Linked DNA regions of Homo sapiens: region 1 is linked to region 2. Evidence: promoter capture Hi-C in human tissues and cell types (Jung and others, 2019). All regions are on one chromosome and are shown on one strand. Each heading gives the region's core, a stretch centred on a gene start or on the middle of the fragment in contact. The rest is flanking DNA. Distances are from core to core; before and after follow the strand shown.

Region 1 (5,201 bases), core at 2,003-4,502, 47 kb after region 2:
AAGGCATCTTTTCTTTCTTTTCTCTTTTTCTTTTCTTTCTTTCTTTCTTTCTTTCTTTCTTTCTTTCTTTCTTTCTTTCTTTCTTTCTTTCTTTCTTTCTTTCTTTCTTTTTCTTTCTTTCTTTCTTTCTTCCCCCCCCCGTCTTTCTCTCTCTCTCTCTCTCTCTCTCTCTCTTTCTTTCTTTTTTTGTGACAGAGTCTTGCTCTATCACCCAGGCTGGAGTGCAATGCCGTCATCTCGGCTCATTGCAACCTCTGCCTCCCAGGTTCAAGTGATTCTTCTACCTCAGCCTCCCGAGTAGCTGGGATTACAGGTGCATGCCACCACGCCTGGCTAATTTTTGTATTTTTAGTAGAGACGGGGTTTCAGCATGTTGGCCAGGCTGGTTTCGAACTCCTGACCTCAGGTGATCCGCCCCCTGAGCCTCTCAAAGTGTTGGGATTACAGGCGTGAGCCACTGCGCCCTGCCTTGGCTTGGAATTTTTTTTTTTTTTTTTGCATTCCCACCAGCAATGAATGAGTTTCTGTTACTACACATTCTCACCAGCATGTGATATTGTCAGTAGTCTGAATTAATGCCATTCTAATAGGTGTGTAGTGGTACTTCATTATTTTAATTTGCATTTCCATGATGACCTATGATGTAGAGCATCTTTGCATTTGCTTATTTGCTTTCTGTATATCTTCTTTGGTGAGAGATCTGTTGAAGTCCTTGGCCCATTTTTAAATTTGGCTGTTTGTTTCCTTATTGTGGTATTTGAAGAGTTTTGTGGGGTTTTTTTTGCATGTTTCATGTAATATTCCTTTATGTCTTTTGCAAAAGACATATTCCAGATATGTCTTTTGCAAATATTTTCTCCCAGTCTCTGCTTGTCTTTTCACTCTCTTGAAAGTGTCTTCTACAGAGAGAAAATTTTAATTTTAGTGAAGTCCAGCTTACCAATTCTTTCACAGATCATGCCTTCTGTGTTATATCTAAAGTCATCTCCAAGGCCGGGCGTGGTGGCTCATGCTGTAATCCCAGCATGTTGGGAGGCTGAGGCAGGGGGATCACTTGAAGTGAGGATTCAAGACCAGCCTGGCCAATATAGTGAAACCCTGTCTCTACTAAAAATACAAAAAAGAAAAAAATTAGCTGGGCATGGTGGCGCGCACCTGTAGTCGCAGCTACTCGGGAGGCTGAGGCAGGAGAATTGCTTGAACCCAGGAGGTCAAGGTTACAGTGAGTCGAGATCATGCCACTGCACTTCAGCCTGGGCAACAAAATGAGACTCTGTCTCAAAAATAAATAAATAAATATAAAGTCATCTGCAAACCCAAAGTTATCTAGGTTTTCTCCTATGTTATCTTCTAGGAGTTTCATAGTTTTGCATTTTACATTTAGTTCTATGATCCATTTTGAGTTAATTTTTGTGAAGTGTGTAAAGGCTGTGTATGATTCATCTTTTTTTTCCATGTGGATGCCCAGTTGTTCCAGCACCAACGTTGAAAAGACTGTATTTCTCCATTCCAGTGCCTTTGAGCCTTTATCAAATATCAGTTGATTATATTTATGTGGGTCTATTTCTGAGCTTTCTATTGTGTTCCATTGACTTATTTGTCTATTCTGACACCAATACCACACTGTCTGGCTTACAGTAGCATTGTAGTATGTCTTGAAGGCAGGTTGTGTCAGTCCTCTGACTGTCTTCTCCTTCAGTGTGGAAACTGAAAACACAGTAACAAAATATATAGTCTACAGAGTTGATTCTGCAGAATATCAATAAATAAAACAAAGAAGGCCAGGCGCGGTGGCTCACTCCTGTAATCCCAGCACTTTGAGAGGCCGAGGCGGGCAGATCACCTGAGGTCAGGAGTTCAAGACCAGTGGGGCCAACATGGTGAAACCCCATCTCTACTAAAAATACAAAAATTAGCCAGGCATGGTGGCAGGCACCTGTAATCCCAGCTACTCAGGAGGCTAAGGCAGCAGAATCGCTCTAACCCAGGAGACAGAGGTTGCAGTGAGCCAAGATTACAGCACTGCACTCCAGCCTTGGAGACAAGTATGAAACTTCATCTCAAAAAAAAAACAAAAGAAAAATGTGGTAGACTGATCACATTAATGGCACTAATTAATAGTCTTCCTCTATCCATGCCCTTTGCCCTGTAACTTTGAAGTCCCATCCACTTTGATTTTGGTCTCAGCCATGTGACTTGTCAAAGAGACATTTGCATACTTGACCTGCACAGAGGCTTTACTGCTCCTCTGTCTTTGACATGAGATCATATGCAGGCTTGCCTTCAGGAGAATGAGTTACCACTTCAAGTAGAACCGAGTCATTTCAACATTAGCTATGACTAGCCTGCTAGTCAGCCCTCCAGCTGACCACAGACACAAGAGCAAGCCAAGCCGAGATTAGCTGAGTCCAGCCCAGGTTTACAGAACCACCTAGCTGACCTATAGATTTGTGAGAAATTCAGCCTGGGCAACATGGCAAAACCCAGTCTACCTACAAAACATACAAAAATTAGCTGTGCATGGTGGCACACCTGTAGTCCTAGCTACTCAGAAGGCTGAGGTGGGAGGATTGCCTGAGCCCAGGAGGTCAAGGCTGCAGTGAGCCATGATTGTGCCACTGCACTCCAGCCTGGGCAGAGACCCTATCTCAAAAAAAAAAAAAAAAAAAAAAAGATTTGTGAGAAATAGTTTTAAGCCATTACATTTTGAGATGGTTTTTTACAGCAGTAGCTGATAACACAAACTTGAGAAAGTATCCCAGAATTTAGAGAAAATAAAGAAACAGAGGCTGGGCATGGTGGTGTGCACCTATAGTCTCAGCTACTCAGGAAGCTGAGGCAGGAGGATTGCTTGAGCCCAGGAGTTCAAGGCTGCAGTGAGCTATGATCACGCCACTGCACACCAGCCTGGGTGACACAGTGAGTTGCTGTCTCTTAAAAAAAGAAAGAAAAACAGAAAGCAAGAAAGAGAGAAAGAAAGAAAGAAAAACAGAAACAAAGAGAGAAAACATGGATGCAGAGGACAGAGAAAGGAAATCCAACATATGAATAACTAGTATTCCTGAAGAAAACATAAAAATAAATCAAACAGAAGTAATTTTCTTTTTCTTTTTTTTTTTTTGAGATGGAGTCTCGCTCTGTCGCCCAGGCTGGAGTGCAGTGGCGCAATCTCTGCTCACTGCAACCTCTGCCTCCCGGGTTCACGCCATTCTTCTGCCTCAGCTTCTGGAGTAGCTGGGACTACAGGCGCCTGCCACCACGCCCTGCTAATTTTTTTTGTATTTTGTGATTTTGGTAATTTATGACTTCTCTCTTTGTTTCTTTGTCAGTATGGCTAGGGGTTTTTCAAGTTTTAAAAATCTTATCCAAGAAGTAGATTTGGTTTTTATTGATTTTCATTGTTTTTGTTTCCAATTTTGTTGCTTTTGGCTCTTTATTATGTCTTTCCTCTGCTTGTTTTGAGTTTAATTTGCTCTTTTTTTAGTTTCATAGGGCAGAAGCTTAGATTATTAATGTGAGGCCTTTCTTCTTTTCTAATAAAAGGATTTAGTACTATAAATTTCCCCTAAGCCCTGCTTTTGCTGCATTCTACAAATTTGGGTATGTTTTTTAATTTTCATTCAGCTCAAGATATTTTCTAATTACTCCTTAGACTTCCTTCTTGATCCATGGGTTATATGCATTGTTTAATATTTTAGGATTTTCAGGTATCTTTCTATTACTGACTTTTGTTATTGTCACAGAACACATTTTATGTGATTTCAATTTTTAAAACTTTGTTAAAGTTTGTTTTATGGCTCAGAATATGACAGATGTTGATGAGATAATAGCTTTCCTTGTTGTTTAAGAAAGGGTAGGTTGAGCTAAGCCCATTAGTGCATGCCTGTACTTTCAGCTACATGGGAGGATTCCTTGAGTTGAAGAGTTTGAGTCCAGCCTCGGTAACATAGGGAGACCCAGTCTCAAAAAAGAAAAAGAAAGGGTAGGTTATTACTTGCAAACCATCTAGCTGATACAGCATTTCATTCCTAACTTTGACTGAAAGCAAGAAACAGGGTAATGGGAGTAGCTCCAAATAAACCAATTACAGCAATAAATGTATAGGCTTTAATCTATTATATTCCTCCTTATAAGTCACAGGTTTTCAGATTGAGTAAAAAACAAGATCAATCTTATTTCCTTATAAGAAGCAGCTTAAAGCAAAAAGTTTCAAGTTAAAGGATGGGCAAACATATTGGGCAAATACAAACAAAAATACAGTAAAAATTACATTATTATATGAAATAGAATTTGATGTGAAACCATTTAATGAAACCAAGAAGATATGTTCATTATAAATCTTTGTATTGAATGTATAAAGCAAAAACTGACCAGAACTTCACAGGAGTGTGAGTATTTAATAATACCTCTGGCCAGGCATGGTGGTGCACGCCGGTAATCTCAGCACTTTGGGAGGGCATGGTGGGTGGATCACCTGAGGTCAGGAGTTCGCAACCAGCCTGACTAACATGGTGAAACCCGTCTCTACTAAATGCAATAAAAATAGCCAGGCATGGTGGCACATGCCTGTAATCTAAGCTACTTGGGAGGCTGAGACAGGAGAATTGCTTGTACCTGGGAGGCAGAGGTTGCAGTAAGCCGAGATCACACCATTGCACTCCAGCCTGGGCAACAAGAGCAAAACTCTGTCTCAGAAAAAAAAAAAAAAATCCTGTAAATATTGGATAGAGCAATTAAACAAGAAATGTTGAGCATATACAGCAGGGGCCAGCAGACTATTTCTACAAAGGGCAAGACAGCAAATTTCTGTTTTAAATATTAATATATATTAAAGAGTTTACAAACACTGAATTTCTATGTACAACCACAACTGCACTCATCCCTCATCCTAAAGGAGGGAACCCCATATCCCTTTCAGCTGTGGACATGGAATCCACGGTTTCCAGGGAAAGACATTCCTTTTCTTGGTCAGTCTTGATTTGTACCTCCTTTCCATCCTGCACTGTATGAACTAAATCAGCGATTAACCCATGTCTTCACCATGCACATCAAAATAGGGGGTTGTCTTGAAGCATGAACAAGTTACACTGTGCTGTAATTATCCAATATTGTGAAGTTCTGATATTAAAGTTATATTAGCTTGGTGAAATGAATGGGAGATTATTCATATTTTTCTGTGTTCCGCATAATTCTAGGTAACA
Region 2 (4,878 bases), core at 818-3,317:
TCTTTCACAACTAGCTACAATGTAAATAACATCCTTAACATTTAAATGCCCAGTAAAACTGTGCTAGACTCATCAACAAAGTAATAGCCAGTCCACTGTTTTTTATTTTTTTAGTTTGGTATTGGAAAATTAGCCTTGTTTCATTATGTTTGTTTACCCTTAATTAGGAATGTCACTTAGAAATTAAATATGGAAAGAGGGGGCCATTTAAGAAAGGACCATTAGGGCTTTCTCAATATTTACCTTTTTCCAATGTCCTAGCATAGCCTGTTCACTGGGTGACAATGTTATATAATAGAAACTCTGATAAATAAGAGACACGGGGCTTTGGAAACTATTCAGCACCTAAATAAAGGGACTAATTGTACTTCTATGAATTTTTAAAGCCATCTTCCAACTTGAAAAACACATTAATTTACTCTATGGGTAACATTTTATATTGCCAACACTCTTATTTTACAAAGGCATAAACAAGCATTTAATGCACACGTTTGCCCGGCGCGGTGGCTCACGCCTGTAATCCCAGCACTTTGGGAGGCCGAGGCGGGCGGAACACCTGAGGTCTGGAGTTCGAGACCAGCCTAGCCAACATGGTGAAACTCCGTCTCTACTAAAAATACAAAACTTAGCTGGGCGTGGTGGCGGGCGCCTGTAATCCCAGCTACCTGGGAGGCTAAGGAAGGAGAATCGCTTGAACCCGGGAGGCGGAGGTTGCAGTGAGCCAAGACAGTGCCATTGCACTCCAGCCTGAACGAGAGCAAAACCCCGTCTCAAAAAAAACAAAACAATAACAATAATGTACACGTTTCACATTTGGACACACTGAAATCAAACTCACGTATTCAAATTTTTTTAGATTAAGTTACATAAAGCATGCACACCATTTGGCACAGGCCCGGCAAACAATCAGTACTCAACATCACCTGTTATTTTCCTGATTTTCCAACTTTAGAGTCAAACTAAATGTTATAGAATTATATGTATGATTATGTATATACAATATATATAAATACATATAAATACCGTAAATTAAGCTAGTATGTTATTGCGTAAAGTAATGGTCTTACCCTAGACGAAGGTGAGTTTAATTGTAACAGATGAAACAAAGAATAGAAAACTTGTTAAGAAGTGTTCAATGTAAGCTCTCATCTCTGCAGGGTTTCATGTGACTTATAATTACCAGTCAGCTGGTCCTAGAGAACTTAATCAAAATGTATAGTAAAGACGAACTACGTGGACCAGTGGCCATTTATCTGCAAGGTGGCACCAGCCACTGACATCTGATCACTTCCATACTGATGCTGAAATCCTATGCAAATTCATTACTTAGGTCAAGCTGGGAAACACTTCTGTCAAGTCACTACACAATTAAATAAAAATACCCAAAAGGGACTTACACTGACAATGCTATAGCATCCTGGCCATATCCAGTTTTGAAAACACTACGGTGTCAGCCACGCACCATTTAGGACGGGGAGAATGGAAAGCCAGTTTGGAGAACAGACGCTTTCTTAAGAGTACACGTGAATATGAAAAGGGACTCTATGCTCTCAAGACCAAAAAAGAAATCCTCTGCGCCGCCCGGCTACATTGCGCCTGGTGGGACAATGTACACGACCCCTCCCCCGCCGAGTCCCACCCCAAGCGCGCACAGCGGAGCAGGAGGCGCCCGGCACTCGCAGGTAATGCCCGGTCCCTGCCACTTCCGTCGAGTTTTCGCAAAGGCGCCGCACGGCAAGCGACGGCCAGGTCCACGTGGGCCAGCAGGCGCGGGGGACGCAACCCGCCGCCGCCGCGAGCCCCGCCGGCGCCGACCAGCCCTGGCCCCCACCCGCGGGAGCCCGGGAGTCGGGCCGGGGGCTCGCGGGAGGCGGCGCGCGCAGCCCGGGCGGGGGTCGCGGCGCGGTAGGGGAAAGGAGCCCGGCTCCACTCACGCGCCCGGGGGCGGCACTGGGGCCGCCGCTGCGTCTCTCCGGCTCAAAAAACTGAAAAGGGGAAAGGAAAAAAAAAAAAAAAAGACCTGGCTCCTCGTTTCATCCGGAAACCGACCGGCCGGCAGGAAATGACGAAGGCAGAGGGCGTCCAGGTCCGCTCGGTAACCGTTTCCCGCGCGCCCGGCCCCGACTCCGGGGTAAAGAGCCCCGGAGCGGAGCAGCGCTGGCCGCGTGCCGCCTCCGGAGCCGGCAGCGTGAGTGGCCCCGCGTCCCCGCTTCTCCCGGTCCCCGGCGGGGCCGCGTCACCCGGCCCCGCCCCGCGCCGCCCGCCCCGCCCCGGACGCGGGGGTAAGGGGGGTGGCCGCCCGCCTGCCCTCGGTCCCGTGCGGTCCCCGAAACTCCGAGCACCCGCCCGGTCCCGGCGCGGAGCCCCTCGGCGTCGCGTGGAGCTGCGAGTCGCCCGCTTCCGGAAGCGCACACGGGCCAGTTGCGGCGGCCCATCTGCCGGGGCGGCGGGGGCTCGGCGGGAGGGTTGAGGCTGAATCACGCGCAGCCTGCGGGCGGCGGAAACGTCCCTAGAGCCTCGCCGCCCTGGGACCCGGGCTGCTTCCTGGGAGAGGATTACATTTTCTCCCTGCTCCACTTGACTTTCTTCCGGAAGGAGCAGGTCTCGCAGGATCGGGGCCAAGACTGGAAGAGTTCAGGTTTGGGAGTCGTGTGTATAACAGCCCCGCGCCTCCACGCCCAGGCCTGTGTGGCTTTGGACAAGTTATATAACCACCGCCGCCACCCCAGTTTCTTCTCCTGTAAAATGGAGCTTTAGTGCCGCCCAGCAGGGTTGTTGGGATAATTCAGTGACTCTGTGGACTGCCCAGCACCTGTGAATTGCTTTCCTGGATGTTGGGTGAAGGCCTGTGAGCTTGTATGTACCCTTTGGCTTCAGAATACCAAGCCTTTAGTGTTTCAGAGGGATGAGAGAAAGAAATCCCATTTTTTGATGCAGAGGATTTTGTTGTAAGGGACTCTAGGAACTAAGTGGTTCCAATGTGAATTTGTATCAAAGTAACAAAGTTCTAAGTGAGAGACAAAAATGATAACATTCAAGGCACGATGACAAGCGGTGGTCAATTTTAGAATCACCTAGACGTGACATCAGGAACCCAAAATCACGACACAGATTTTAAAGCTTATGATACAGTGACCTAGTCCCTAGAAAAAGTAGTTCTCGGCTGGGCACGGTGGCTCACGCCTGTAATCCCAGCACTTTGGGAGGCTGAGGCGGGCGGATTGCCTGAGCTCAGGAGTTTTGAGACCAGCCTGGGCAGTATAGTGAGACGACCCCCACCCCACCCCCGTCTTTAAAAAAAAAAAAATAAGAATTACCCAGGCATGGTGGCACTTGCCTGTATTCCCAACTACTTGGGAGGCTGAGGCAGGAGAATCCCTCGATTCTGGGACGTCGAGGCTGCAGTGAGCCGAGATCGCACCACTGCCCTCCAGCCTGGGTGACAGAGTGAGACCCTGTTTTTGTAAAAAAAAAAAAAAAAGTAGTTCTCATCCTAAAAGTTTGTCAATCTAAAACCAACCCCTAGTTGTAATATATTGGCAAGTTTATATACTCTTGTTTACTTGAGACTTAATTCAGCCCATCCTAGCCTCTCCTTACTGAAATAGTTCAAGCATTACATTACAGGAAAATGTGAAAAATGGTGTCTTGCTTTAGATTCCAGAGGAAGGCTGTGGTGGTATGCAGTAAGCACGCAGCAGGTGTATGTGTGTACACTTGGTTACACTGTGGCATGCCGGGGAGGAGGGGACGGGGTCATAGTTCAGGCTGCCTGTGGGCTGTGGGTCTGTACTGTGACTCAGGACCAGAGCACTCCTTACTCCTGGCAGCCTTATAAAGTCATGCCATTGATCATGATTGAGGACTGGGCGGGAAAGGCCTCCCCTCTGCAAATCTTTCACAACTACACTCCTAAAAATAACTCAAGTGCATGTGCCTGGAAGCGCAGAAGAGTGACTTCATGACATACCAATCATGTTGTATAATATAGGTTGTATAATTCACGTTAAAATTTTACCGTTCTATGTCAGCAGTAATTAGAAATTTTTTCCTAAGTGTAATTAAAGACCTGCATATTTGGGGCAGGAGGAAGTAGCGCTTTTGAGTAGGAATATACCATTTACTGAGTGGCACATGAACAGAATCTTGTGAAAAATTAAAGTAAGAAATTAACCTGGTTCTGATCCATTTTGTCATTAGAAAATAGGAAACATTTTTTAATTTGTCAGATAAATGACACCCGTGAAATGTTCTAGTGGCCAGTGCTGTATGGTTCCCCGTTTCTTGCCTAATTTGTTAATAACTCTCAATCCTGAAAGCTGCCTCCCTTGCTGCATAATTGTCCTGGGCCTTCTGCAGCATCTCAAATCAGACACATAAAGTCATCTTTTTTTTGCCAAACACGGTGGTGGTGGTTGCTATTTTACACTTTGGCACCAACGAAGTTTGAGATTCCATAAATTATAAAGACAGTTATAGTGTCTGGGCTTCCAAAAGTTTCCATGTCTAAAGTAGGCTGATTACTTACTATAAACCATAAAGTTACATTCAGAGGAACTCTGGAATTTAGTTTTGAGGAATAAGAATTGAAACTCTCAATATGTCAAATACCGGCCGGGCGCGGTGGCTCACGCTTGTAATCCCAGCACTTTGGGAGGCCGAGGTGGGCGGATCATGAGGTCAGGAGATCGAGACCATCCTGGCTTACACGGTGAAACCCCGTCTCTACTAAAAATACAAAAAAGTAGCCGGGCGCGGTGGTGGGCTCCTATAGTCCCAGCTAGTCAGGAGGCTGAGGCAGGGGAATGGTGTGAACCCGGGAGGCGGAGCTTGCAGTGAGCCGAGATCGTGCCACTGCATTCCAGCCTGGGTGACAGA

The links. The method cuts DNA at HindIII sites, captures the fragments that hold promoters and counts their contacts. A contact is called where the count stands out against the background at its distance.
Region 1: a fragment that was not itself captured here is called in contact with the fragment with the promoter of SMIM19 in region 2 in 1 of the 25 tissues and cell types used here (IMR-90 fibroblasts).

What each region holds. Positions count from the first base shown.
Region 1 is chr8:42,585,724-42,590,924 of GRCh38, forward strand. No RefSeq gene overlaps it. Among named protein-coding and RNA genes, the nearest start is that of SMIM19, 47 kb to the left of the region's middle. The HindIII fragment of the contact is 4,227 bases long and covers 1,140-5,201 here.
Region 2 is chr8:42,539,518-42,544,395 of GRCh38, forward strand. It overlaps SMIM19 (small integral membrane protein 19), which reads left to right and starts at 2,068. Exons shown (of 4, transcript NM_001135674.2): 1 at 2,068-2,856. It also overlaps a transcript of SLC20A2 not described here. RefSeq lists silencers at 1,649-1,928, 2,069-2,488 and an enhancer at 3,649-3,943. The HindIII fragment of the contact is 13,050 bases long and covers 1-4,878 here.